Regions from separate parts of the Homo sapiens genome. Here regions 1, 2, 3, 4, 6 and 7 are each linked to region 5. Evidence: promoter capture Hi-C in 16 types of primary human blood cells and fetal thymus (Javierre and others, 2016). All regions are on one chromosome and are shown on one strand. The core of a region is centred on a gene start or on the middle of the fragment in contact, and the rest is flanking DNA. Distances in the headings are between cores, read along the strand shown. Region 1 overlaps LOC107985862 (a long non-coding RNA gene). Region 2 overlaps BIRC6 (baculoviral IAP repeat containing 6). Region 3 overlaps BIRC6 (baculoviral IAP repeat containing 6). Region 4 has its middle 31 kb from the start of LINC01946. Region 5 holds the start of SLC30A6 (solute carrier family 30 member 6). Region 6 overlaps BIRC6 (baculoviral IAP repeat containing 6). Region 7 overlaps BIRC6 (baculoviral IAP repeat containing 6).

Region 1 (3,692 bases), core at 816-3,315, 480 kb after region 5:
CCAGCATGCCTCTGAGCAGGGTTGCCATGGTGACCTTACTCGTACCAGAAGCCACCAAATTAAAACTCCCCTAGAAAATCCAGACTGGACCCTCTTTACGGATGGAAGTTCCTGTGTGGAGCAAGGAGTCCGTTAGGCAGGATATGTCGTAGTCACTCTGAATGATGTTATTGAAACTGCACCCATCTCTCCAGGCACAAGCACTCAACTAACTGAACTGATAGCTCTTACAAGAGCACTCAAATTAAGCAAGGGAAAAGTAACTAACATTGGCACTGACTCCAAGTATGCTTTCTTAGTCCTTCATGCTCATGCTGCCATCTGGAAGGAAAGGCACTTCTTTACAGCTAATGGGCTCTCTATAAAATACCATCAGGGGCCGGGCGCGGTGGCTCACGCCTGTAATCCTAGCACTTTGGGAGGCCGAGGCGGGCGGATCACGAGGTCAGGGGATCGAGACCACGGTGAAACCCCGTCTCTACTAAAAATACAAAAAATTAGCCGGGCGCAGTGGCGGGCGCCTGTAGTCCCAGCTACTCGGGAGGCTGAGGCAGGAGAATGGCGTGAACCCGGAAGGCGGAGCTTGCAGTGAGTGGAGATCGCGCCACAGCACTCCCGCCTGGGCGACAGAACGAGACTCCGTCTCAAAAAAAAAAAAAAAAAAAAAAAAAAAAAAAAATACCATCAGGAAATTAACAGGTTATTATCCTCTGTTTTCCTTCCACAAGAGACAGCAGTGATGCATTGTAAGGGACATCAGGGGGAACAGATGAAATAGCTGAAGGAAAAAAGTTAGCTGATCAGGCAGCCAAGTCAGCAGCAATTAAGCCTCAGGTTCTTAACACACTCAAAACCTCTCTAATCTGGGAAGGCTCTGTAAGAGAAATTAAGCCCCAGTACTCCCCTCCAGAAATAGAATGGCCATTTCTTGAGGGTACACTTTCCAGCCCTCAGGGTAGCTACAGTCAGAGGATGGCAAACTCCACTTGCCAGCCTGTAGTCAATAGAAAGTCCTTAAGACCCTCTCCTCTACCAAGCTTTTCACTTGGGAAAGGATAAAACTTATCAGTGTGCCCAGAGATTGTTTACAGGGGAGAACTTATTAAGAATAGTCAAATATGTTAATGCTTGTGAAGTCTGTCTTAAAAATAATCACCTCAACAGGCAGCTCCTTCCTCCTTAAATCCAAAGGATGGGAAGCTATCCAGGGGAAGACTGACAGATAGATTTTACCCACATGCCAAAGATGAAGGACATTCAATACCTCCTGGTATGGGTAGATACTTTCACTAACTGGGTAGAAGCATTTCCATGCTATACAGAAAAGTCGTCTGAGAATAAAAGTGTTAGTTAATGAAATAACTCCCCACTTTGGTCTACCTAAATACCTCCAAAGTGGCAATGGCCCCTCATTTAGGGCAGCCGTCACACAGGGGATCTCAAAGGCACTAGGCATACAGTATCATCTCCATTGTGCTTGGAGATCCCAGTCCTCAGGAAAGGTAGAGAAGACAAATGATATTATCAAAAGACACCTCAGAAAACTGTCCCAATAAACTCACCTTCCTTGGGTCACTCGTCTTCCCATGGCTTTATTGTGGGTAGGAAATACCCCTTCAAAGTTAGGTCTAAGCCCTTTCGAGATGCTGTATGGATGGCCTTTCCTTACCAGTGATTTTTTATTAGACCAGGAAACCTCTGAATTGGTTAAGCATGTAACCTCTCTGGCTCCCTTTCAACAGGAATTAACACAACTAGCAGAAGCCCAACCCCAAGAAACAAGGCCACCTTTATTTAACCCAGGAGATTTTGTATTGCTGAAAGCTCTCCCTTCTCTCTCTCCTTCCCTAAGCCCAAGCTGGGAAGAGCCCTACACTTTTCTTCTTTCAACCCCCTTGGCGGTAAAAGTTACAAAAATTGACTCCTGGATACATCACATTCAAGTCAAAGCCTGGAAGGCTGAGGGAGCAACTGCTGACAGCCTAGAGGAATGTCCCTGATATCAATGCAAAGAAATAGGAGATCTTAAGCTGAAAATCAGAAAAGATAAGTAAATGAGTAAGGGTTACTCATCCTACTAAGTCTCACCCCTAACTTATCAGATACTTCTGGTCATTTCTACATTTCCTCTCAAAATTCACTGTCAGATATTAGAACTTCTTTTTGGTGCATACTTGCAGGAAGATTTTGATTATCCATGGGATTAAATTTGTAAATTCATAAACCCCCCAAGGGAAATTCTATATCTTAGTCAGTAAAATTTTAGATGGAAATTATGTATTATGCCACTCTTGTGGGAACTGCTATACTCACTCTACTATTTGCAGTAGGACTATACACTGTGGCACCTGCAATGTGGAATTCTGGTTGCAAAATTTTAATTGCTGTAATATTCTGCCTAATTATCATGTTTGTAACAAGTAATTATATAATAATTACAGGAAAGATTTAGCCAAAATTAACACTAAAGTTACTCTAGCCACCCAATCCAATGTCACTTATCCTAAGAAAAACATTGCTTTTATATTAACGCTTCTGGTAAAGTACAGCGACATCTGGTGGAGGCAAACTAGTATTACAACCAATCGGAATGGCTAACAGCTGTCAAACCCTATTGTCATGGTTATGGCCTATACTACCCCCACTAATAATGGTAATCTTAATACTCATATTCGAGCCCTATATTCTAAATCTTCTTGTAAAATTTATCTCTTCTCACTTAGAAGTTATTAAACTCCAAATGGTGCTGCAGATGGAACCATGAATGGACACACCTTTCTTCTGAGGATGCTTAGATTGACCCCAGGAGGAGCCCTAGCTGTTTTTCCCCACACAACACCCCTTTTCAGCAGGAAGTAGCCAGAAAGAGTCGTCATCCAACACCCCCTAACAGCAGTTAGGGTTACCACTCCTGAGAGGGGAAATATGATAGAGGAGATAGAAAGGAATTATTTAGGCAGATAGTGAAGGTAAAAGAGTCCTCAGCAGGGCTTCCTTTTAAACAAAAAGCATCCCCCCAAATCGTTTCTTTTTTAACAAAGAGCAGTCTGAAAAATTGAGCTGCAAATATAGATAAGCAAGGTGGAAGCTTGCATGGGTGAATGCTGGAAGCTGTGCCAATAGAAAAGGGCTGCCTGGAGGACAGACATATCCAACATGGATGCTCCATCTTCCCTTTGTTTGTTACCACATGTACAATAAAGAAACAGGCAACATGGCACCAGCAGGCATAGGATCCAATTGCATAATAAAAGATTAGGGTGGGGACAGCCAGCTTTTCGTGCCCTATGCAAACAGCACACCTAGCCTTAACCAGTTTTTCACACCTTACATAAATGGCACATCTAGTCCAACCAATCTTTTTTGCCCAATGTAAATCAGGCACCACCTCCTCACCGGGCTTCTATAAAACCCCCCTGCATTTTGCCACGGATCCAGCAACCCATTTTTTTGGGACCCCTCTCTGCTTCATAGAGCTCCTCTCTTTTGCCTATTAAACTTCTGATTTTAATCTTGCTCCTTGTGTGTTCACATCCTTGATTTTCTTGGCATGAGACAATGAACCTCAGGTATCACCCCAGTCAATGAGGCCACTTCATTACCTTCACCAACGCATTAAACAGAATCTCACTCTATATCCTAAATTATGTGACGTGAAGAAGACAAGCACTATTCCAACTGTGCTTGATAAG
Region 2 (4,069 bases), core at 241-2,740, 400 kb before region 5:
ATCATGTAGCCTCTTTTCAACTTGAGACTGGCACAATAATGAAGCCTTAGAAAAAACCTTCCCTATTCCACAGTTTTCTCCTGCCCCCCCATTTTAGCTACATCTGCTGGAATGGAATCCACAGTTTTGAATGATTTCCCTGTCTACATCGAAATATTTGAAAAATCAGAATTTATACTGATAAAAATATAGCCAGGTACCCAAAGATTACCATTTGCACTGCTTTATAAACTCATTTAGCAAAGTAGTGCACATAGTATTTCACCGTTCTCAACCCTCTTCATGTAACATACAAAGAGAAACAGAACAGAGGACACATTGTTCCAACCAAAACCCCAGCAAGTTATTTTGTGGCTATCAATCAAATGATTAAGTTTCTATGGAAAGGCAAAATACGTAGCATAGCCAGCACAACATTGAAGAACAAAGTCAGAGGACTGACACTATATGACTTGACCACCTGACTATAATGCTGCGACAATTAAGACAATGTGGTACTCACGAAAGAATAAACAAATAGATCAGTGAAACAAAACTGGGAATAAAAATCTGTATGTGAATGTTTATAGCAGATCTATTCATAAATGCCAAAAAAAGGAAGCAATCAAGATGTTCTTCAAAAGGTGAATGAATAAACACTTACATGTTCATACAATGGAATATTTTTCAGCGATAAAAAAGGAAGCAGCCACCAAGCCATGAAAACACATGGACAAAACTTAAATGTATATTATTAAATGAAAGAAGCCAATCTAAAAGGCTAGATCTTATGATTACAACTATATGACATTCTGAAAAAGGCACAACTATGGAGACAGTACAAAGAACAGTGGTTACCAGAGGTCTGGGGATTAGGAAGGGATGCAGGATTAATAGAATTTCTTAGGGCAGTAAACTCTTCTGTGTGATCCTGTCATGGTGGAATACATAAAATTGCGCATTTGTCAAAACCCACACAACTGTAGAACATAAAGAGCGAACTCGAATTTCAACTATAAATTTAGTTAAAAATAACATACCACTATTAGTTCATCAATTATATGTACTACACTAATGCAAAATATGAATAAGTAAACTGTGAGTAGGAACTGCATATATGGGAACTCTGTACTATCTGCTCAATTTTCTGTGAACCTAAAAATACTCAACAGCAATTTAGATAAAATTATAAAAGAATACAAGTAATACAAGATATGTTTATGTTTTAAAAATTAAATTATTATGAAGGTATTAAGAACAACCAAAACCACAAAATGAGAATCTTCTTCTCCATACATGAATAATGAAGACAGTCTAGCATGCTAAAGTTCAATAAGGAAGAGAAGGGGAAAAAGAGATCCCACAAATTTGCAAGCACAAATATAACTGATAATTCCAATTGTTAAAATCTAGAAATAATAATAATTTTATTTTTTTTTAAGTTGGAGTCTCACTCTGTCACTCAGGCTGGAGTGCAATGGCATGATCTCGGCTCACTGCAACCTTCACCTCCCGGGTTCAACCAATTCTCCTGCCTCAGCCTCCCGAGTAGCTGCGATTACAGGGGCCCACCACCACGCCTGGCTAGTTTTTGTATTTTTAGTAAAGACGGGGTTTCACCATGTTGGCCAGGCTGGTCTCGAACTCCTGACCTCGTGATCCGCCCGCCTCAGCCTCCCAAAGCGCTGGGATTATAGGCGTGAGCACTGCCCCCAGCAAAATCTAGAAATAAATAAATAAATATATATATATATATACATGATTAAAGCATTATTTCTTCATATAAACATAAAAGATAATCCCAGAAACTTTAAAAAAAACTTTAGGTTCAAAAAAAACCTTGAATATAATTTACAACTAAAAAAAAATCAAAATAAAATGAAATCGAACGATTTCAAATTTCATAATTAATGAATACTAATTAGAAAGTATATCACTCATGAGCGGGCACAGTGGCTCATGCCTGTAATCCCAGATATTTGGGAGGCCGAGGTGGGCAGATCATTTGAGGTCAGAAGTTGCAGACCTGCCTGGTTAACATGGTGAAACCCAGCCTCTACTAAAAATACAAAAATTAACCAGGCGTGCTGACACGCCTGTAGACCCAGCTACTCAGGTCGCTGAGGCAGGAGAATCACTTGAGCTTGGGAAGTGGAGGTTGCAGTGAGCCAAGATCGTGCCACTGTCCTCCAGCCTGGGCAACAGAGCTAGACTCCATCTCAAAAAAAGAAAAAAGAAAAAAAAAAAAAAGTATGTTACTTGGAGGTCAATTTTTTTTTTTTTGAGATGTAGTCTCACTCCGTCACCCAGGCTGCAGTGCAATGGCATGGTCTCGGCTCACTGCAACCTCTGTCTCCCGGGTACAAGTTACTCTCCAGCCTCAGCCTCCCAAGTAGCTGGGACTACAGGCACGTGCCACCACGCCCGGCTAATTTTTGTATTTTTAGTAGAGATGGGGTTTCACTATGTTGGCCAGGCTGGTCTCGACCTCCTGACCTCGTGATCCACCCGCCTCGGCCTCCCAAAGTGCTGGGATTACAGGTGTGAGCCACCGCCCCCGGCCTACTTGCAGGTCAATTTATAAAGCACGAGATGTTGCATAAAAAAAAAAAAGTCGGGCACAGTGGCTTATGTATGCAATCCCAGTGACTCAGGAGGCTGAGACAAGAGGATTGCTTAAGGCCAGGAGTTTTGAAACTAGCCTGGGCAACATAATGAGAACCTATTTCTACAAAAAATTTTAAAACTTAGCTGGGCATGGTGGCAGGTGCCTGTAGTCCCAGCTAATCAGGAGGATGTTTGAGCCTAAGAATTGAAGGCTGCAGTGCCCTATGAGCACACCACTGCACTCCAGCCCGGGTGGCAGAGAAGACTATGACTGAAGAAGAAAAAAGAAAAAATATATAGTTACATTATATTCACATGTAAACAAAAGGGCATAGAGAAAACAACACAGCTCCTCTGAAATAAATGAAACATGCTATTCCCTCTTATTTAACTGGTATATATTTTACTCTATTGAGTTAGCATTAGGAGAGGCCAACTGGGAATCTTACATTATGGAAATAGAAGAAGATATTCTCTTCATATCAAGGAGTATGAAGGCAAAAGCTAGCAAAACAAGGTAATAATAAGCACTGGCACACGAGACTGGGAATAGTCCAAAAAATGTGAGAGATAAAATTGTGTGTTTATTTTACAAAAATCTTTAAAATTTTAAAAAGAACTTTAAATTTCATTACTGTACTTTAAAAAATATCTCAAGATATCAAATTTCTTCATTTTAAACTAAAAATATCAAGTTTTTTGTATTTCTGTATTTTTCTTGACAACCATTAGTTACGTAAGTATGCTTTTCTTTAAGTCAAATTCTATATTAATGCATATGACAATCTATGCCTATGTCTGGAACCTGACATGTGTTATTTATATCGGATTTATTATTATTGTTGTCATTATTTTTTTGAGATGAAGTCTCACCCTGTTGCCCAGGCTGGAGTGCAGTGGCGTGATCTCGGCTCACTGCAACCTCCGCCTCCCGGGTTCAGGCAATTCTCCTGCCTCAGCCTTCCAAGCAGCTGGGATAACAGGCACCCGCCACTACACCTGGCTAATTTTTTTGTATTTTCAGTAGAGACAGGGTTTCACCATGTTGGCCAGGCAAACCCTTGAACTCAGGTGATCCACCGGCCTTGGCCTCCCAAAGTGCTGGGATTACAGGTGTGAGCCACTGTGCCGGCCTTATTTTTTTTTTTTTTTTAAAGATTTTGAAGACCCCCCCAACCAAGAGGAGAACTTGGAAAACTAATGTAGAGCTGATTTATGCTCTCCTTTTAAGACATGTGCTTTTATTGTAAATTAATGTGTACCGGTGGTCAGCAAGCAACAAGAATGGATAAAGATAATAAACCCTTAATAAAAACCTGCCTGTTAAAGCACAAAACAACATAAAAACTACTTCAATCTTGAATTCTTTCATTCTATTTTTGCCATGAAGAGCTTCATCAGAAAACCCTTAGATGTCTTCAAATTTAGCTCCTTTACACATACTTCATTGTTATTACAGGATTCAATGTGCGCCTGCCTGACA
Region 3 (4,134 bases), core at 581-3,080, 380 kb before region 5:
TTCCTGAGTGGTAGATGTTACAACTGGAGCACTCACCTAAAGAAAAAGAAAAGTGTTGGCTTGGCCATTCACATTTTCAACATCAGATTCAAAGTAAAGACTTAACTTTAAATGATCTCTTTAAAATATAGGATTATAAGGATTAATAAAGCTGCTTGCTTTAAAAAACAAGCTTCCAGCCGGGCGCAGTGGCTCACGCCTGTTATCCCAGCACTTTGGGAGGCTGAGGCAGGTGGATTACTTGAGGTCAGGAACTCGAGACCAGCCTGGCCAACACGGTGAAACACCGTCTCTACTAAAAATACAGAAATTAGCCAGGTGTGGTGGTGCACACCTGTAGTCCCAGCTACTCAGGAGGCTGAGGCAGGAGAAACACTTGAACCCAGGAGGTGGAAGGCACAGTGAGCCAAGATCACACCACCGCACTCCAGCCTGGGCAACAAAACTATCTCAAAAAAATAAATAAAAATAAAAACAAGCTTCCAAACATCAAGACGCACATGACAGCAGAAGTATGGCAGTGTCTGCCAAGTGTCTCTACATTAGTTATTAATTCCACCTTTATAATTAGTTAAGTATCTATATGCAGATTCTTGAGACTATTTAAACATCTTATTTCTCACCAAACTTTTGATCAGTCTTAGCATTTTTATAATTGTGCCTGAAACAATTATTACTAAAGTGGTTAAGAAAAGGAGAACTTTCTAATTCTGTCATTCTTTCTACATTTATTAGTTGGCACCAAGCTATAAGGAAAAATATTCTCTTCTTATCCATTAATTTTTATCAGTATAGATTCTAACTTTATTACACTGTTACTATCATTATTAATTTTGATGCCTGAGGGGAATAAGATTTTGTCTCTGAGACGCCATTAAAGCAGGATCCTACTTCCTTATAACTTGTCCCCCATCGTTCTTTGAGCACTTCCTTGCTTTCTAGCACAGCAAAACATTCTAGGCTCATGTTCTACCTACTCTTCCTCAGTACTAGAATTTCTCCAAGGAGCCCTGATTTCCTTTAGTAGAAAATTTTTAAAATGACAATATGGGAGATATATATGCATATATCACTAGGGGGAGTCTGCTTCTGGGTCCTATCAGCAAACATACCTAGAAAATACATGTATGTATACATGTGTAAATATATATATATATATAGACATAATTTCTAGCATGTATTCTTCAAAACTGTCAAGGCCATGAAGGCCATGAAAGATAAATAAAGATAGCAGAATTGTTACATATGCAAGACTACAAGACAACAAAATGCAATATATGATCCTGAACTACCAGTATCCTCAAACCACGCAAAAGAAAATTGATTTTTCTTTGGCCCTAAAGAACATTAGAAGGACAGGCAAAAGCTGAATAAGATTTGCAGTTTATAGTACAGAGTCAGTGTGAACTTCTGATTTGTATAACTGTATATGGTTATCCAAGAGAAGTTTTCTGAACTTAGGAATAAAGGAGCATCATGTCTATAATTTAATCTTAATAATTCAAAGAAAAACTCCAATTCTGAGCATGGTTGCCCTACAAACTTCTCATTGCATTTAGAAATACTCTACTTATCTTGCTTGACCATGAATAATGCACTTCACTAAATACTAATTTGAAGTTCCACACTCAAACATATAATTAAATGAATAGTGAGCTAATCACAGAGTTATCTCACTATTCACTTCAAACATCAGGATGATTCCTAAGCTTCCTGTATGACTTTAGTAGACTGATAGGTAACTCTGTGGGGTGATTTTTAAATGAATGGTGAGGTAACTCTGTGATTAGTTCACTATTTCTTCCTTCTTTTACATATATATGTAGAAGTCTTAAGCTGATCTACAGCTTAGATCAGTCTTAAGTTGATCTACGGCTACACTACATGCATCTGTACACTGAATAAAACAGGTGCAATTTTGATGCCAGCTTATTTTCACTACTGAAGCTTAGGCCAGAATGACAATATGAAATAGCCTAATTGTAAGAACATAGGAATTTGAGGCACTTTTCACTTCTAAACCATTTTGAAACCCTTTATAGGCAAATTTTTAAAGATCCTCTATATTTATTATTTTATGCTGCACAGAAGATAGTTTCATATAAAAGTACCTATATAATAGAACATTGTTACAGAAGCAGAACTTTACCTCATCATAATTGTTTTCTTAAAGGACTATTCTCATATGATGCCACAAAACAAAACAAATACAATGAAAGCAAAAAGACAGCAAAATCAAAGAGCTCTCAATTTATAGCATTCAAATTCTTTAACAAGTGAAAGACCCTCAACTTCACGAAAATCAGAAGAGCAAATTAAAACCACTATCATATATTTCCCATCACCCATTATACAGATACAAATTTTTAAGTCTTATATTAGATATGTATACAATTCTTCACAACTTTTTTCATTATAGCTAACAACTGGAAATAAAAATGCTAGTCAACATTAAGACTAATACACACAATAAGGTATAGTTAAATATACAGCAAGTATGCTAGAGCTATACAAATGAGACCACCACAGGCTTAGGCATCAACAAAGATTAATTTCAAAATACAGGTTCAGCAAAAGCACCAAACAGTAGAATATAAACTGATATTTACATAAATGTCACAAGTATAACGATTCAAACAGAACTGTTTTAGGGTATTAATATTAAGTGGATTTAATTTTTTAAAGTATTATATTCACTTGTATTATTTCACATTTTGAAAGTCAAAACTGAAAAGTATATGAAAACATGCTTTTTGCTCAATTAACAACAAAGAAATTTTATTTCTGATATACTAGGATAAAACAGCTCAATTTCCCAAAGAAAAGACTCTAATAAGGACGTGCTCACTTTGAATAATGTCTAAAACACAAATAAATTATTTTAAATTAGATGAACAGGATATGATTTATATCACAGGCTTTTAGGAATTACGATATTCCAACCATGTGATGTCTTTAATTCTGATACTCATTATATGTCACAGCAAACTGAGAAGACATGATACTTTCTAAAGTAGTCAAATGCTCCAATTTAAGAACAAAAAATGAGTTTCAGTTTAAATTGGAGAAACATGGGATTAATGTGATTTCAAAATCATAACCATGGTACTTAAAAATGAAAACAGACTAAAAATTCTGTATGTTTGATTACAATTCTGCATAAGTGTATACATACAAACGTATACATGCACTTCTTCTACTGATTCTGGTTGTGTTTTTCAAGGAATTTATCCATTATATCTAAGTATCAAATATGTTGGCATAAAGTTGGTTATAATAGTACCTTATTTTATTCTATAGAAATTATAATAATGTGCTTGCTATCATTTGTGGATGTCCAATTTGTGTGGTTTTCCCTTTTTCTTGAAAATTTTTCATAGTTTATCAATTTTACTAGAAGTCTCAAAAGACAAAATGTACGACTTTCTTGTTTCTCTTTGATTTTTTTGTTTTATATTTAATTGATTCTGGCTCTTACTGTAGTAATTCCTTGCTTCTGATTTTTGGTTAATTGTACTCCTGTTTTTCTAGTTTCTTGAGGTGGCAGTGTACACCACTGATAAATCTCCTCTTTTAATTATATGCATTTAAAGCTATAAAATCTCTCTATAGACTGCTGTAGCTATATCCCATGTCATGTTGGCATTATCGTTTTGAAATATCTTGTAGTATCTATTGTGATTTCTTCTTTCATCCATGTGTTACTAAAAACTATACTGCTTAGGTTACACATATTTGAGGTTTTCTAGATCTTACCGCTATTGGTTTCCAATTTAATTCTGATGTGGTCACAGAACATACTGGGTTTGATTTTAATGTTTTTAAATTTACTGAGACTTTTTGTATAGGCCAGCATACTGTCTATCTTTCTTTGGAAAGAAGTACATCCTGTAGTTGGTAAATGCTTTGTTCCATAAATATTGGTTACGTCCATCTAGAAGTTTTGGGCGTTTCCCCCAACAACTCCTACTTCCTCACTTTGTTTCATTTACTGAGAGATAAATGTTATAATCTATTACTGAAATGTAGATTTATCTAATTCTTCCTTCAGTTCTATAAATTTCTGATTCATGTACTTTGAAGCTATTAAATACACACAAATTTAGGATTGTTATGACTTATTCTGAATTAATA
Region 4 (4,212 bases), core at 964-3,463, 330 kb after region 5:
CCTCAATTTTTTGAAAAGATAATTTGCTCTTAAATGAAACTTAGAATGAACTGATTGAGCTTGTTTAAATACTGGTTATGACCCAATCCCAAAATGGGATTAATCCACAGTGTAGTAACACAATCCTATGTATTTCTTTTTTCTTTCTTTTTTTTTTTTTTTTTTTTTTTTTGAGACAGAGTCTCTATAGCCTAGGATGGAGTGTAGTGGTGCGATCTTGGCTCACTGTAACCTCTGCCTCCCAGATTCAAGGAATTCTCGTGTCACAGCCTCCCAAGTAGCTAGGATTACAGTTGTATGCCACCATGCCCAGCTAATTTTTCTATTTTTTTTTTTAGTAGAGACAGGGTTTCATCATGTTGGCCAGGCTAGTCTTGAACTCCTGGCCTCAAGTGATCCACCCGCCTTGACCTCCCAAAGTGCTGAGATTACAGGCGTGAACCACTGTGCCCAGCCAATCCTATGTATTTCATAGTATACAGTGATAATCTTAGAGTGAATATGAAAAAAAGCCTCTAAACTTCCTTAACACAGACTATCAATCATTTAATAGCTGAATATTTGGTGTGAGTGGGATAATACTTGATATAGCATTCTTTGGGTATAGACCTTAAGTTTTTCATAGGTTTTCTCATGATTTTGCATGTGAACTAAACTGTTATATCTCTATCACATTCATTGAGAATCCATTATGTACTAGACATTTGAAAAGGAGAGTAAAAACTGGTTTAGAATAACTAGTCTGGAATAATTTCAACAGGTTCTTTGAGGGTTTAATTACAAAGGTTTGATTGCAGGCCGACTCAAGAAATTGAAAGGGGAGTTTTAACAATTTTAAAGTTTTACTTCAGTGACATAAGCAATAGTAAAGTTGACAATCCTTAATCCAAAAATTGAAATGCTCCAAAATCTGAAAAGTGTTTGAGCAAAGACGTGACACCACAAGTAGGAAATTCCACACCAGACCTCATGTGACAGGTCACAGTCAAAAAGCAGTCTAAACTTTGTTTCATGCACAAAATTATTAAGAATATTATATAAAATTACCTTCAGGTTATATGTATTAGGTATATATAAAACATGAATGAATTTTATGTTTAGTCTTGGATCCCATCCCCAGGATATCTCATTATGTCTATGCAAATATTCCATAATCTGAAAGAAATTCAAAATTTGAAACATGTCTGGTCCCAAACATTTCAGATAAAGGATATTCAACCTTTAGACGCAGCTCTATAAATGCCTACTGAGAGTATCAGAAAGATAGTGTTAACTTGCATGGTCTATTTTTGGGTTGCACTTATGAAAATCTCTTGGGCAAGGACAAAACCAGACCTTTATAGGCAACTAAGACTTACCTTCATACATGTAGAGATAGATATACATACATGTGTATAATAATAACTATTATAATATAATTGTATAATATAACTACTATAATAACTATAATAACTATTATTGCTAATGTTAGTGGCAGTAGTAGATATAAATGATGATGTAGACACCATAACATAAAAAGATGTCTATACCAGTAGAATCTATTCAGTGAGTTTATAGTGTAATCATGGGCTAAATCAGACTGATATAAATTCTATCATGTAGATTATAAAATTTACATAATAAAGTTTGCAATCTACCCATCTGACAAAGGGCTAATATCCGGTATCTACAAGGAGCTTAAACAAATTTACAAGAAGAAAACAACTCCATCAAAAAGTGGGTGAAGGATATGAACAGACACTTTTCAAAAGAAGACATTTATGTTGCCCACAAACATGAAAAAAAGCTCATCATCACTGGTCATTAGAGAAATGCAAATGAAAACCACAATGAGATACCATCTCATGCCAGTTAGAACGGCGATCATTAAAAACTCAGGAAACTAACAGATGCTGGAGAGGATGTGGAGAAATAGGAACGCTTTTACACTGTTGGTGGGAGTGTAAATTAGTTCAACCATTGTGGAAGACAGTGTGGAGATTCCTCAAGGATCTAGAACTAGAAATAGCATTTGACCCAGCAATCCCATTACTGGGTATATATCCGAAGGACTATATATCATGCTACTATAAAGACACATGCCCATATATGTTTATTGGAGCACTATCCACAATAGCAAAGACTTGGAACCAACCCAAATGCCCATCAATGATAGACTGGATAAAGAAAATGTGGCACTTATACACCATGGAATACTACACCGCCATAAAGAAGAATGAGTTCATGTCCTTTGCAGGGACATGGATGAAGGTGGAAACCATCATTCTCAGCAAACTAAAACAAGAACAGAAAACCAAACACCACATGTTCTTACTCACAAGTGGGACTTGAACAATGAGAACACATGGACACAGGGAGGGAAACATCACACACGGGGGTCTGTCAGGGCATGGGGGACAAGGGGAGGGATAGCATTAGGAGAAATACCTAATGTAGATGATGGGTTGATGGGTGCCACAAACCACCATGGCACATGTATACCTATGTAACAAACCTGCACGTTTTGCACATGTATCTTAGAACTTAAAGTATAATAAAAAAAAAAACTTCAAAAATAACTTCAAATGAATAATAAATGTGATAGCTGCACTATTATGGTGAACTTGAGGTTTAGAGAATGGTTTTTCCATGTCTGAGTTGCAGAGATATTACTAATACTATACAAGAATAATTTCTCCATCTTTTCTCTGAAGTGATAGACAACTGTCTTCCTATGAGACAGAAACTTGGAGCTTTCTTCCTTTTAGTTAATAACCAATTTATAGCTGTCTTTAAACTTTGCATCCTTCTTTTCTAAAAAGAAAATCTAAAAAGGAAATCTATCCTGGTTAGTATAGCAGTGTTTTTCAAGTGTTTTAAAAATATGGGTTATATATAAAATTAGTGGTTTGCAGTAAATTTTGAAAAGTGCAATAAAATAGAAAATAGAGTGCACCACACAAAGTAAAGTATTTTATGCATCAATACACACACATGTATATACATAAACATATTAGTCCATATGCAAAACATGAGAGACAGTGTATGAAGTGACTAAGGGCATGGGTTCTGGAGCCACAGGGCCTGTATTCAAATCCTGGTCTGGTTACTTGTCTTTGGACAAGTCACTAAGTGCTTCAAGTTACTCATTTGTAAAATCGAGATATTAATAACCTTACAGGATATTGTGAGGATTAAATGAGCTACCACATGTAAAGAGCTTATAATTTATAAGGCACTTTCTATACACATATACATACACCCTATTTATACGCACATGTGTAGTGAGGGATATGTGTGTGTGTGTGTGTGTGTGTGTGTGCACGCGTGCACTATGTTCTAATGTAAAATATGTTTCTTACTCTGAGTCGTGGTTTTAAAAGATATGAAAGCTACTGGTTTATCGGGTGGCTGGCATTGTGGGTGGATATGGAGTGATGAGACCCTGGTCCTGGTCAATATTCTGCCAATTCCTGTGTGACCTGGAACATGTTACTTAACCTCTCTGTCCTCATTGCCGCATTGTTCTCTCTCTCTCTCCCTCCCTCCCTCCCTCTCTCTCTCTCTCTCTCTCTCTCTCTCCTACTTCAGCCTCTTCAGTAGCTGGGACTATAGGTGTGTGACACCATGCCTGGCTAATTTTTTTATTTTTTTGCAGAGACAGGATCTCACTATGTTCCCCAGGCTCTCATTGTCTTTTTCTTAAAGGTAATTAGACACTAAATTATCCTAAATGTGCCAATAAACAATATAATTCTATGCTTCTGTTAATCTTTCTGGTTCTTCCCTCTCTCCCCTTTTGAGAAAAATGGGAAGTTCTTTATGGATTGTGGATTATGAGTTTTGACCTTGGCCAGGATGAATGAGTGAGGATTAGGTACCTGAGGAAAAAGACACCTAATAGGGACTCTCCATATAGAATAGGGACTAAATGACCTTATCATATTCTTCCTCTGAGGGGAAGTTGAATGTGGGAAGAGAGGCAACATTTGAGATGCATAGAGGAGACATCAGAATGAAAGAGAATGAGAGCCAGTGTGGTGGCATGTGCCTGTAGTTCCAGCCACTTGGGAGGCTGAAGCAGGAGATCACTTGAGCCCAGGAGTTCAAAGTTACAGTGAGCTATGGTTGCGTCACTCCAGTCCAGCTTGGGTGACAGAGCAAGTCCCCTGTCTTTAAAATAATAATAATACCAATAAAAGAATGGAAGATAGAGAAGTGTGGCTGTAGTAT
Region 5 (3,853 bases), core at 246-2,745:
TCACGCCTGTAATCCCAGCACTTTGGGAGGCAGAGGCGGGAGGATCACCTGAGGTCAGGAGTTCGCGATCAGCCTGACCAACATGGAGAAACCCCGTCTCTACTAAAAATACAAAATTAGCCAGGCGTGGTGGCGCATTCCTGTAATCCCAGCTGCTCGGGAAGGTGAGGCAGGAGAATCGCTTGAACCCGGGAGGCGGAAGTTGTGGTGAGCCGCGATCGCGCCATTGCACTCCAGCCTGGGCAACAAGAGTGGAACTCCGTCTCGAAAACAACAACAAAAAAAGAGGCTGTAAAAGTAAGAAGCTTGATAATGAGTGGCTTTGTATGCCATGCTAAACAGGACTTTATCTTGAGTGCTACAGAAAAAAAAAAAAGGAGAAAATTTGAGTAAGGGAGTGATGTGGTCAAATTTTAGAAATATAACTCTGGCTACAGGCTTCACAATGGTGAATGTTTTGAAGAAGAGCGTAACTGAAGGCTATTTGATCATTAGCCAAAAAGTGTAAACTTTTACCCATTTTCTGTGTGCAAAAGGATTACAGAAAATTTACAAAACATAAAGTGTGTGAATGAGGCATTTTCCCGACCATATCCACTTAAGTAAAAAACTTAGTACAGTGACAAAAGCTTAGGCACAGAAATGTGGTCTCTTTCTCATACGTAGGCTATCAATAAGTACTCCATAAATTTTTCTAATAAATGCATTTTCAAAAGGCACACGCCACTTGGACACTTCAAATCCCAACCAACTGCTTATCTTTAAAGTTCAGAGCTATATATTTGAGCTCTAAAGGCAAAGAATGACTAATTCTAACAAATTTGAGAGAAAACACCATATCCCAACAACCATAACGTCTACTGGGTCTTCCATTAGTTTCTACAAACCCAGAAATAAAGCAGCAATAAAATGTCCTACCAACACCTTGACTTTCTGTAGTTACTGCGCTTATGAAATTTGCTGCCGTAATCAGGCTACTTAATATTTAGTAAAGCCAAGTTGCAGAGTGAGACGTCTGCCCTAAAACCCTATTACTAACCTTTTTTTTTTTTTTCCGCTGGCGTTATCGCCACTGCTCTAAGAATCACTATTACAGTTGTTGCTGTGGACTTGTTTTCAGATCTTTTGTTGGTGGCCTAGTTGTTGACGCTGGCAAAAACTTTTATTACCTTAAAGAAATCTCGGCAGAGGGAAGTCAGAAACTCGCCAGGAGCTGAAAGCTCTGCCTGCAGCGGGGCCTAGATCGTGAGCGCCTGCGGAACAGGTGAGGGACCGAAAGGGACCAGAACTCTGAAGGGGAACATTTTGGGAGACAGCCGCTCCTGCCAAGGGGCCCGACTTCAACTCCAATGACCCCTCCTCTGGGTGGCTGAGGGATTTCAAGGTCGCTTCGGGACCAAATAAGATAAACCGAATCAGCTACAGCCGAAACCCTCACCCCAACAGCCAACTCACCATGATAAGGAGCTGCACAGCTCCCGCCGGAAGCCGTTCTGGGTGCTCGAGTTTTCCCAGAACGGAAGGGGTGGGGCACCAGTGGGCGATTGGCTGTGAGGAAAGCGTGGGAGGAAGTGCGTGCTCTGGCCTCCGGCTTCCGTCCCCTTCCCGGCTGTCCCTGCACTCCGTGGCGGAAGGCGGCTAGAGCGGCTCCCTCTGAGCTCTCCGAGAGATTGGTCGGGACCTGAAGCGTTGAGGTTAAGGGCAAGGCAAGGAGCAACGAGGAGTTTTTCGTTACGTTAGAAAAATTTCGTTGCGTGCTGAAGCGCTTTTACCTGTGTTGTATGATTTAACCTTATGAAAATGGACAGTATTCCAGTTTTACAAGTGAGGAAAGAAGATTAAGAAACTTGCCTCCGCCAGGCGTGGTGGTTCACTCCTGTAATCCCAGCACTTTCGGCGGCGAGGCAGGCGGATCACTTGAGGTCAGGAGTTCGAGACCAGCCTGGCCAACATGGTGAAACCCCGGCTCTACTAAAAATGCAAAAATTAGCCGGGCGTAGTGGCACGCGCCTGTAATCCCAGCTACTCTGGAGGCTGAGGCAGGAGAATCGCTTGAACCTAGGAGGCGGAGGTTGCAGTGAGCCGAGATCGCGCCACTACACTCCAGCCTGGGCGACAGCGCGAGACTCCGTCTCAAAAAAAAGAAACTTGCCTTGAGTCCTACATATAGTTTGCTGTAGTAGCAGAATTTGAACTCGGACCGACTAATGGTCTACTTAATAAAATGCTATTTGGATTCTCTATAAAATTAATAATATAGAAGTAATGTTAATTATAGAAAACTTGGAAAATATTAAATTCATTCGATAAAGATTGAATATGTAGCACGTGTGTTTGTCAGATACTGGTCTCGTGAAAATTATATTCTGGTAGGGAAGACAGAAAACAAGTAGGGATAAAGAAATTTTTAAAAGATATTCATAAGTAGTGTCGTGTAGAAAACTGGGTATAGGTTGAGTATCCTTCATCCCAAATGCTTAAGACCAGAACTGTTTCAGATTGTGGCTCTTTATCTTGGGGATGGGGCCAGAGGCTAAACTTGAAATTCATTTATGTTTCGTATACACCTTATGCACATAGCCTCAGGGTAATTTTATGCAATTTTAAAAATTGTGTGTGTATCAAACAAAATTTTGACTACAGCTTTTTACATGCGGTCAGGTGTGGAATTTTCCACTGTGGCATCGTGTTGATGATCAAAAAGTTTTGATTTTGGAGCATTTTAATTTCAGATGGTTGGATTAGGGTTGCTGAACATGTAATGGTATACAGAACAACTGAGTAGGTGTGGTGCTCACGTCTGTAATCCCAGCACTTTGGGAGGCCTAGGCGGGCGAATCACGAGGTCAGGAGTTTGAGACCAGCCTGGCCAACATGGTGAAACCCTGTCTGTACTAAAGATAAAAAAAATTAGCTGGGCGTAGTGGCGGGTGCCTGTAATCCCAGCTGCTAAGAAGGCTGAGGCAGGAGAATTGCTTGAACCCGGGAGGCAGAGGTTGCAGTGAGGCGAGATCGTGCCCCTGCTCTCCAGCCTGGGCAACAGTGCAACACTTCATCTCAAAAAAATAAATAAGAAGTAAAAAATAAATAAAATCGTAGGTATTATCATCTATCGACAATCTGTTCTCCACACTGCAGCCACAGTAATCTTTTTTAGTAGAGGAGAGGTCTTGCTATGTTGCGCAGGCTGGTCTGGAACTCCTGGGCTCAAGTGATCCTCCTGCCTCAGCCTCCCAAGATGCTAGCATTACAGGCATGAGCCAACACCCCTGTCCTATACCTAGGATTTAATGAACATTCAATATGTGGTAGGCAGTATTCTAAGAATTTGAGGCCAGGCACAGTGCCTCATGCCTGTAATCCCAGCACTTTGGGAGGCTGAGGCAGGCAGATCACTTGAGGTCAAGAGTTTGAGATCAGCCTGGCCAACATGGCAAAACCCCGTCTCTACTAAAAATATAAAACTTAGCCGGGTGTGGTGGCAGGCACCTGTAATCTCAGCTACTCGGGAGGCTGAGGCAGGAGAATTGCTTGAACCCAGGAGGCGGAGGTTGCACTGAGCTGAGATGAAGCCTGGGTGAGAGAGATTCCATCTCAAAAAAAAAAAAAAAAAGCCGGGTGCAGTGGCTCATGCCTGTAATCCCAGCACTTTGGGAGGCCAAAGCGGGTGGATCACGAGGTCAGGTTTTTGAGACTAGCCTGGCCAACATAGTGAAACCCCGTCTCTATTGAAAATAGCCAGGTGTGGTGGCAGGAGCCTGTAATCCCAGCTACTCAGGAGGCTGAGGCAGGAGAATCACTTGAACCTGGGAGGCAGAGGTTGCAGTGGGCCGAGATCGTGCCATTGCACTCC
Region 6 (4,222 bases), core at 570-3,069, 340 kb before region 5:
GTCAGAAGAGAGTCCATTTAGTCTTCCAAAAAGTAAAGGACTATTCAAATCTTGCAACAAAGAATCCAAAGAAAAAGTTTGCTAAATAAGCAAGTTAACCATGGGAAGATTTACTTAATTGAATTAAGTTATTCATTAAAAATGAGGCTTCCATAAATTCCAACAACACAGAACAAACTCTAAAAATAATGAAACTAGGCTGGGTGCAGTGGTTCACACGTGTAATCCCAGCACTCTGGGAGGCCAAGGTGGGTGGATCACCTGAGGTCAGGAGTTCAAAACCAGCCTGATCAATATGGAGAAACCCCATCTCTACTAAAAATACAAAAATTAGCCGGGTGTGGTGGCAGATGCCTGTAATCCCAGCTACTAGGGAGGTGGAGGTTGTAGTGAGCCAAGATTGCGCCACTGCACTCCAGCCTGGGCAACAGAGTGAGACTCCATCAGAGAAGAGAGGAGAGATAAACATAAACTAAAAGAAAAAATAATTCCCAAAACAGAGTTAAGCACGAAGATCGCACAGTTCAACTGCTGTTACTTTACAGATATGTAAACATTTAAATATCAAAGTTAATTATCACCTGTAGGATCACTGCCTGATGCTGCACAATTTCTCAGGAGAATGTCTATGAGCTTCAGGCCAATTCTAGTAGACTGCAGTCCTATCTTTACAAGCACAACCTCGATGTTGGGTGAATGCATTCCACAGTAAGGTGACATCAATAAGGCCGCACAAGTCTGCAGCAGATTAGCAGTAGGTGCAGCTGCACTTGCCATCATTCCTTCTAGATCACTTATGTGAGTAAGGCAATGATGTAATAACCGTAACCATCCAATACTGAAAATACAAAATGACTTGTATGATCAATATAAGTCGCTCAAATCACTTCGGGGTAGAACATAACTTTTTAAAGATCAGCATGTTGTGTTTCATAAACAGCATTAACCAATCTAAGACATGTTTTTTTAGAATGCTGCAAATTAAGTAAACAGACAGTAAGTTTCCCCTATAAGATAAATCATGGCCAGGCACGGTGGCTAACACCTGTAATCTCAGCACTTTGGGAGGCCGAGGCAGGTGGATGACAAGGTCAGGAGTTCGAGACCATCCTGGCCAACTTGGTGAAACCCCTTATCTACTAAAAATACAAAGATTAGTTGGGCATGGTGGTGGGCGCCTGTAATCCCAGCTACTTGGGAAGGTGGGGCAGGAGAATCATTTGAACTCGGGAGGCAGAAGTTGCAGTGAGTCTAGACTGCACCACTGCACTCCATCCTGGGCGACAGGGTGAGACTCTGTCTCAAAACAAACAGAAAGATAAATCACATACAAAAGTACTTGTATTCATAGCACTTAGACACCATGGGTTTGCTTTTTTAGGCAATCATCCAGAAACTTTCTTTTACATGCAATTATATATACTGATAAACTGATTACTATCATAGACTTCTAAAACTGTGTAGTCTTAGCACCTTGAAAATAGAAATCCTAAATTCTTTTTTTTTTTTAAAGACAGAGTTCACTCTCACCCAGGCTGGAGTGCAGTGGTGGAATCGTGGCTCACTGCAACCTCCACCTCCTGGGTCCAAGCGATTCTCCTGCCTCAGCCTCCCAAGCAGCACACCGCCATGCCCGGCTAATTTTTTGTATTTTTAGTAGTGATGGGGTTTCGCCCTGTTAGCTAGGATGGTTTCGATCTCCTGACCTCGTGATCCGCCCGCCTTGGCCTCCCCAAGTGCTGGGATTACAGGTGTGAGCCACTGAGCCAGGCCTTAAATTCATTTTTATCAGGCAGAACTTTCAATAAAATCCATCTATAAAACATCCAGCTGTCAAAATTTATCAGAAAAATGTTGATTAAAAAATATATTTGGGTCCTTGTTAGTTTGGTTCAGACATAATCCTTCTGTTAACTAACATTTAGGAATTACCATATAAGACTAGGTCGCTGTTTCTAAGGTCAGTTGGTATGGTTCAGATGTCATAGGCTGGTCATAGGCATTTGCAAATTCCCGAAACAGAGTATGATACAAAAAATTACAAGCCAGAAAATTACAATGTACACCTACATGTAGCATACAGATCATCTCAAAGACTAAACATATATACACCTTAATTTTAATCAGTGTCAGCATTCTGTTTCCACAAAACTGTCTCTATTACACCTAATAAAATTGTATTATACAGATACCTATGGAACAAAGACCTTCCTAAGACCTAAAAAAGAAAAAACCCACAAAATAATTAAGTCCCCTATCTCCCAACCATGCCAAAAAAAAAAAAAAAAAAAAAAAAAAAGGACAAACAAAACATACCTTGTTTTGGATACCTGATCTTCAGATGGAAGGAATGGATTATTAACTGTTGCAGAAGAGGTGGTACCAAAAGCAGTGAGCCCCAATAATTTAATTTGTGAAAGGCCTAATGTGCTGGCATCCCGTGGACGATGTAGTCTAAGGCAGACAGCAGAAGCTACTTCGGCTTTTACAAGCTGAATTTTTATGTAGGTGAGGCCACTTGTGACAACAGGAGTGGACAAAGGTAGCATATTTACCCCATCTGCACTTACTTCAACAGACACTGAGGAAGGGCAGGCTATAAAAAGAGAAAACTGAATCATCACAAAAGACAAAGTATACTAGATTGAACAGTTTATTAAAATCCCAGTAAAATAGCAGCTTTCACAGTTGTATTCATCATGAACTTGTAAAAGGAAAACTTATACAACAAAATATAGTTTGACAATGACTTTCACCATAATTAATGTTGGAGCTATTTTTCAACACAAAATATTTGATCTACAATAAAAATTATACTTAAACAGTCTAATATTCACCTAAAAAAAGAGGAACCAAAGATGTGTGATGCACATGTACCTGATGCTCCCTATGAATAAAACCAGCCAAATAGGTAATTATGTCATCATTTCTATTTTACTCAAAATTATCACAAATAATACAAAACTACCTTTGATTAATATGCTATGGTTTACTATTTTAAATAATTTGGGGAAAAATGTAATAAAACTTGTTTATCTACCAATTATTCTATTACTACTAGATTGTGATTTTTTTAAACATTGAGTTTAACCTCACAGCTGAGTTTAGAAATTTTTTTTTGTTTGTTTTGTTTTGTTTTCCTGAGATAGAGTCTTGCTCTGTTGCCCAGGCTGGAGTGAGTGCAGTGGCACGATCTTAGCTCACTGCAACCTCCAACTCCCAGGTTCAAGTGATTCTCCTGCCGTAGCCTCCAGAGTAGTTGGAACTACAGGTAGGTGCCACTACATCTAGGTAATTTTTGTACTTTTGGTAGAGACAGGGTTTTGCCATGTTAGCCAGGCTGGTCTTGAACTCCTGTCCTCAAGTGATTCACCTGCCGCAGCCTCCCAAAGTGCTGGGATTACAGGTGTGACCCACTGCGCCCAGCCTCCTTTTCAAATTAAACCAAATATCCACAGGATTTTTTTTAAAAAATCAATTCTTGCTGAAATTTAAGGAGTCCCCAATGAACTACCAGAAAATTATTTATTTCTAGCTTAACATGGAACCCCATCTAATAAATATGTCAACTAAAACTTTTGAAATTTGGTTTTATTTTTAATTTCAGTGGTAAAAAAAGAAGGAATTACATGCCAGCTTTACACTGATTACTAGACAGTCAAGTTAATTTTTAAATTTCTACTTCAAAACCTTTTGAGGAAAGTATTATCTACATTTTACACAAGCAGACATAGCAAAAAGAGATTAAGTAATCCACGCTCCCACAAGAAATGTCACACCTTAGATTCAAGTCCATGTTTGATTCTAAAGACTGTTATTTCCACTGTATCACAACATATTTTCAACTTCTGCTCTAATCCAATAATAAAACCAAATTTTGTAATCAAGTACACTTAAGTAGGGAACACCTAAACCAATTAATTTTTCACAGGGGTTCCCCCTTCATAATATGCTTCCTGTTTCAATTCCCATATGAAAAATCCAGCTGAACTTCAAAAGCCACCACTTATGACCAAACTCCTTTGCTTTCCAAATAAAAGCAATCTCTTTCCAATTTTAGAGGTAGCCTAAGTCTTACATTGACTTATATTTGCCTTTTAATATAGTTATTTTTGACCTCCTAAAACACCGTGTACTAGCATATTTTCCTTCTACCTTTATATTATCTGTTTTTTATCTAAGGAGTGTGGATGCCACAAGTAATTAAGCTATATCAGTCTAA
Region 7 (3,818 bases), core at 108-2,607, 300 kb before region 5:
AAAAATGGCCTTGTCAATTGATTCAAAAATTTTCTGAAATCCCAGTCTGTGTTAGTTTTGAACCCCAAGACGTAAGTAGAAAATTAAGAGTAGCTGGGCACAGTGGCAAGTGCCTCTAGTCCCAGCTACTGGGGGACCTGAGACAGGAGAATTGCTTGAGCCGAGGAGCTCCAGGCTGCAATACACTAGACTGCTACTGCACCTGTGAATAGCCACTATACTCCACACTGGGCAATACAGCGAAACCCCTCTTTTTTTTTTTTTTTTTTGAGACGGAGTCTCGATCTGTCGCCCAGGCTGGAGTGCAGTGGCGCGATCTCTGCTCACTGCAAGCTCCGCCTCCTGGGTTCACGCCTTTCTCCTGCCTCAGCATCCCAAGTAGCTGGCACTACAGGCGCCCGCTGCCATGCCCGGCTAATTTTTTGTAGTTTTAGTAGAGACAGGGTTTCACCAAGCTAGCCAGGATGGTCTTAATCTCCTGACCTCGTGATCCACCCGCCTCGGCCTCCCAAAGCGCTGGGATTACAGGCATGAGCCACCGCACCTAGCCACCCGTCTCTTTAAAAAACAAAAACCAAAACCAAAACAAAACAAAAAAACAACAGTAAGACTGCTACTGTTACAGTTAAGGCAATCAACCACTATACAAACAAGCTTCTTTAAAACATCAGAGTTTTAAAAAATTAAATCAGCAAATGCAGTATATTAGTTAATTTTGTAAAGGATCAATCTGCTCTTCTTTCAGCCATTGGCAACTTTTTTTCTTAATTTCACAACTAGATGCATTTAAATACCAAATAGTATTATTTGATTTAGTTTCCTTAAGCCCTGCTTAACTTCCTGTGAAGTTGCATATTGCATTCATTGGGGTTTAGATCCAAAGTGAAAGCAGGACTACAATCATATATAATCAAAATACCACTGAAAAAGGCCTTGGGAAGGTCCTCTAATGGATCTCAAACAATGCTTTTTCCCAGTATAGACATATCCCAGTCTCTTCAGCTCAATGCCAGATGAGATAGGTAAAGAAAAAGCAGATTTACATCCCTCATTTCACCCACATTACAAGAATAAGTTCAATTAAAAAACAGAAGGCAGATCATTAATAATGTCATAATTCTTTTTCTTCCTTATTGTTTTGGGGTGGGTCAGCTAGTAATCTTACCAGCTACATTTTATAGTGAAGGAAAACAACTAAATTAAACTTCTAGGAATAGTGCTATTCTCGACAGAGCTAGTTTAAAAGAAAACAAGGCAGTTACTAATACTTCCCTAACAAGAAAAATTATTAAAAAAAAAGAAAGAACATAGTTATCCTCCTCAGGAGGCTTATGTACTACAGTCATTGCTATGTATAAAAAAACAAACTACAGTGTAAACAACTGCTCATCTCCCATAAGACTTCAGAATAACAAATTTCCACTCTAAATGTCATCAACACTAATGTTGTTACCAATGAATGATTAGTTGGGCAGAAAATACTGTAAGACTTTTATTTTAGCTTTCAAACTCCCTCTTACAAAGAGGAAACAACCACATTGCAAGAACGCAAATACTATTTAATTCTTCATATAATGATACATGCTACAGTGTATACTATAACCATGTTATTTCCCTGAGGATTTTGTTGAATTCTACTGCTGCTAAAGCACAAAAATGTTGGTGGTAGTTAAAACCAACTGTTTTAAGAGAAAAGTTGCCTAGAGTTTATTCACAAATATGTTGTGATTGAAAGCATCTATCCCAATGTCAGTTCTGTAGCATATAAGCAGAAGACAAACTCAGGTAACATTCAAACTATTCAGAGCCTAGGATATGTTATTATTCTTATCCAGTTATTACAGTAAGCAGTAGTTCTGTTTGCTCTTCTCAAGAAAGAGTTCTACTATAAGAAGGCTAGTTTTAGGAATATTTTGAGTGTAATTTCTAGTATAATGGTGATTTGACCAACTACAATAAATTATTTATGTCAATAATGTATCAGCAGGCAAGATTCATATATAGATCAAATCCATTACTCAACAGCACTCTTTATGCAATTTGGTGAGCACAAAGCTTGAACATGTAAGTGCTTATTCTTGATAAAATGTACTTAACCCAAGAGGAAACGCGATTTGCAAAAAAAAAAAAAAAAAAAATCGAACTGAAGAATAATGAGTCTTTAAAAGGCCGGCAGACTAAGCAAAAAAAAAAAAAAAAAAATTTAAGAAAGTAAAAGATTACCTGAATGCATTCGCTCTATAATAATGGACTGGTGAGGCGGAGGTTGAAGAAAATGTGAAGCATGAGAAATTGCAAGGGCTAGACCAGAACCAAGTGGATTCTAGAGCAGGGAAAAAAAAAAAATCTAACTTTATATTGATATTACTATAGTTCTATAAAAACTACTAACCATAATAGCAAATTAATAAGTTTCTTCTCTTAATGTATGTACTGTAATATTTTATAAAAGAAAATAACTTGATACATCTAGTTGGTATTAAAAATTTTGCCTTCTAAAGTTAGAGTATATTTCAAGATATTTTTAAATGTCTAAGCCAACACCTATTTAAAACATAATTTACCATTCTGGACTTGTTGGAATTTTTGTTATGTGCAGCAAGATTGACTGCTGGGGGATCAATGACTGAGCCTGGGAAAAGCTGTGCAAGTTCGGCATTAATCACAACGGAAACTGCTTCATTGGGTGGAGTGAGTGGTGGAGTCATAAAAAGAGGTGTTGTTTTTGGAGTGGGTGGAATAACATCAGATGGATGAATGAAGAATCCAGGGGCAGCCACTGGGTTGGAAGGCACAGAGTTGTGAACAGGACCTACTGCTGATGCTGCTGCAGCTGCTGCAGCTGTTGTCTGATGTAACTTGGCTTCCAGCTTTGCTTTCTGCAAAAGAAGTAAAAGCAACATATATAGACTAATCCTGCCTACCTAAATTGTGGCAGAATACCACATGGACATATATTATGAAGATAAACATGATTAAATTGATCATACTTAAAGATGAAATTAAATCAAAACTGGACTCGATATAAATGGATCATTGCTTTGCTATATACACTTTAAATGTTTAACACAAAATTTCCTGTGCATTTGGGAACTAGGACTCTTTCAAGGTAGTGGTGAAAAGGAAGCAGAACAATTAATGTAAATAAGGAATATCTGCTCAAAACAAAATATTATAAGGAGTTGAATTCTCATGTTGACTAATGTAATACAATTTGTCACCTGGAATTGCCAAAGATTTCATTTAAACCAGCGGTCCTCAACCTTTTTGACACCAGGGACCAGTTTCATGGAAGACACTTTTGCCACGGATGCGGGGAGATGTGGCAGAGGCGCAGGGGACTGGTTTCGGGATGAAACTGTTCCACCTCAGATCATCAGGCATTAGACTCTCATAAGGAACATGCAACCTAGATCCCTCACATGCACAGTTCACAATAATGTTCATGCTCCTATGAGAATCAAATGCCCCTGCTGATCTAAAAGGAGATGGAGCTCAGGTGGTGCTTGCTTGCCCACCGCTCACATCTTGCTGTGCAGCCCAGTTCCTGAAAGGCTATTTATTGGTACTGGTCCATGGCCCAGGGACTGGAGACCCCTAATTTAGGCCACAATAAAATTTATGAAGCATCTGTCATTATTAGTGAATTTTAAGTCACATTAAATTTAACTGTTCTATAAAATTTTGTTTTAGGAACTATACTCCATATAAATAGTAACTAGTAACTGTACATATTCTTTGATCGAGTGTGTAGAGAATGGATTTACTTCAAGATTGCACAAAAAATATCAATCATATTCCCTCAAATATGTATCAAA

What was found. The method cuts DNA at HindIII sites, captures the fragments that hold promoters and counts their contacts. A CHiCAGO score of 5 or more calls a contact.
Region 1: a contact is called between a fragment that was not itself captured here and the fragment with the promoter of SLC30A6 in region 5, in 1 of 17 cell types (erythroblasts). The highest score is 6.4, in erythroblasts.
Region 2: a fragment that was not itself captured here is called in contact with the fragment with the promoter of SLC30A6 in region 5 in 1 of 17 cell types (monocytes); the score reaches 5.1 in monocytes.
Region 3: a fragment that was not itself captured here is called in contact with the fragment with the promoter of SLC30A6 in region 5 in 1 of 17 cell types (total CD8 T cells); the score reaches 5.4 in total CD8 T cells.
Region 4: a contact is called between a fragment that was not itself captured here and the fragment with the promoter of SLC30A6 in region 5, in 1 of 17 cell types (total CD4 T cells). The highest score is 5.2, in total CD4 T cells.
Region 6: a contact is called between a fragment that was not itself captured here and the fragment with the promoter of SLC30A6 in region 5, in 1 of 17 cell types (neutrophils). The highest score is 6.1, in neutrophils.
Region 7: a fragment that was not itself captured here is called in contact with the fragment with the promoter of SLC30A6 in region 5 in 1 of 17 cell types (non-activated CD4 T cells); the score reaches 5.8 in non-activated CD4 T cells.

Annotation. Positions count from the first base shown.
Region 1 is chr2:31,687,382-31,691,073 of GRCh38, reverse strand. All of the region lies in intron 2 of LOC107985862 (a long non-coding RNA gene), which reads left to right. Among named protein-coding and RNA genes, the nearest start is that of SRD5A2, 110 kb to the right of the region's middle. The HindIII fragment of the contact is 2,051 bases long and covers 1,040-3,090 here.
Region 2 is chr2:32,559,391-32,563,459 of GRCh38, reverse strand. All of the region lies in intron 65 of BIRC6 (baculoviral IAP repeat containing 6), which reads right to left. The region is part of intron 1 of BIRC6-AS2 (BIRC6 antisense RNA 2); the gene reads left to right. Among named protein-coding and RNA genes, the nearest start is that of BIRC6-AS2, 13 kb to the left of the region's middle. The HindIII fragment of the contact is 6,417 bases long and covers 1-4,069 here.
Region 3 is chr2:32,539,143-32,543,276 of GRCh38, reverse strand. BIRC6 (baculoviral IAP repeat containing 6) reads right to left here. Exons shown (of 74, transcript NM_016252.4): 62 at 1-36. Among named protein-coding and RNA genes, the nearest start is that of MIR558, 9.1 kb to the right of the region's middle. The HindIII fragment of the contact is 238 bases long and covers 1,712-1,949 here.
Region 4 is chr2:31,832,717-31,836,928 of GRCh38, reverse strand. No RefSeq gene overlaps it. Among named protein-coding and RNA genes, the nearest start is that of LINC01946, 31 kb to the right of the region's middle. The HindIII fragment of the contact is 6,628 bases long and covers 1-4,212 here.
Region 5 is chr2:32,163,506-32,167,358 of GRCh38, reverse strand. It overlaps SLC30A6 (solute carrier family 30 member 6), which reads right to left and starts at 1,495. Exons shown (of 14, transcript NM_017964.5): 1 at 1,456-1,495. The coding sequence starts at 1,458. It overlaps SLC30A6-DT (SLC30A6 divergent transcript), which reads left to right and starts at 1,620. Exons shown (of 1, transcript NR_185886.1): 1 at 1,620-2,318. RefSeq lists an enhancer at 1-175. The HindIII fragment of the contact is 4,145 bases long and covers 632-3,853 here.
Region 6 is chr2:32,506,354-32,510,575 of GRCh38, reverse strand. BIRC6 (baculoviral IAP repeat containing 6) reads right to left here. Exons shown (of 74, transcript NM_016252.4): 51 at 2,317-2,596; 52 at 582-838; 53 at 1-50. Among named protein-coding and RNA genes, the nearest start is that of MIR558, 24 kb to the left of the region's middle. The HindIII fragment of the contact is 6,562 bases long and covers 1-4,222 here.
Region 7 is chr2:32,463,570-32,467,387 of GRCh38, reverse strand. BIRC6 (baculoviral IAP repeat containing 6) reads right to left here. Exons shown (of 74, transcript NM_016252.4): 25 at 2,565-2,879; 26 at 2,224-2,323. Among named protein-coding and RNA genes, the nearest start is that of MIR558, 67 kb to the left of the region's middle. The HindIII fragment of the contact is 1,401 bases long and covers 657-2,057 here.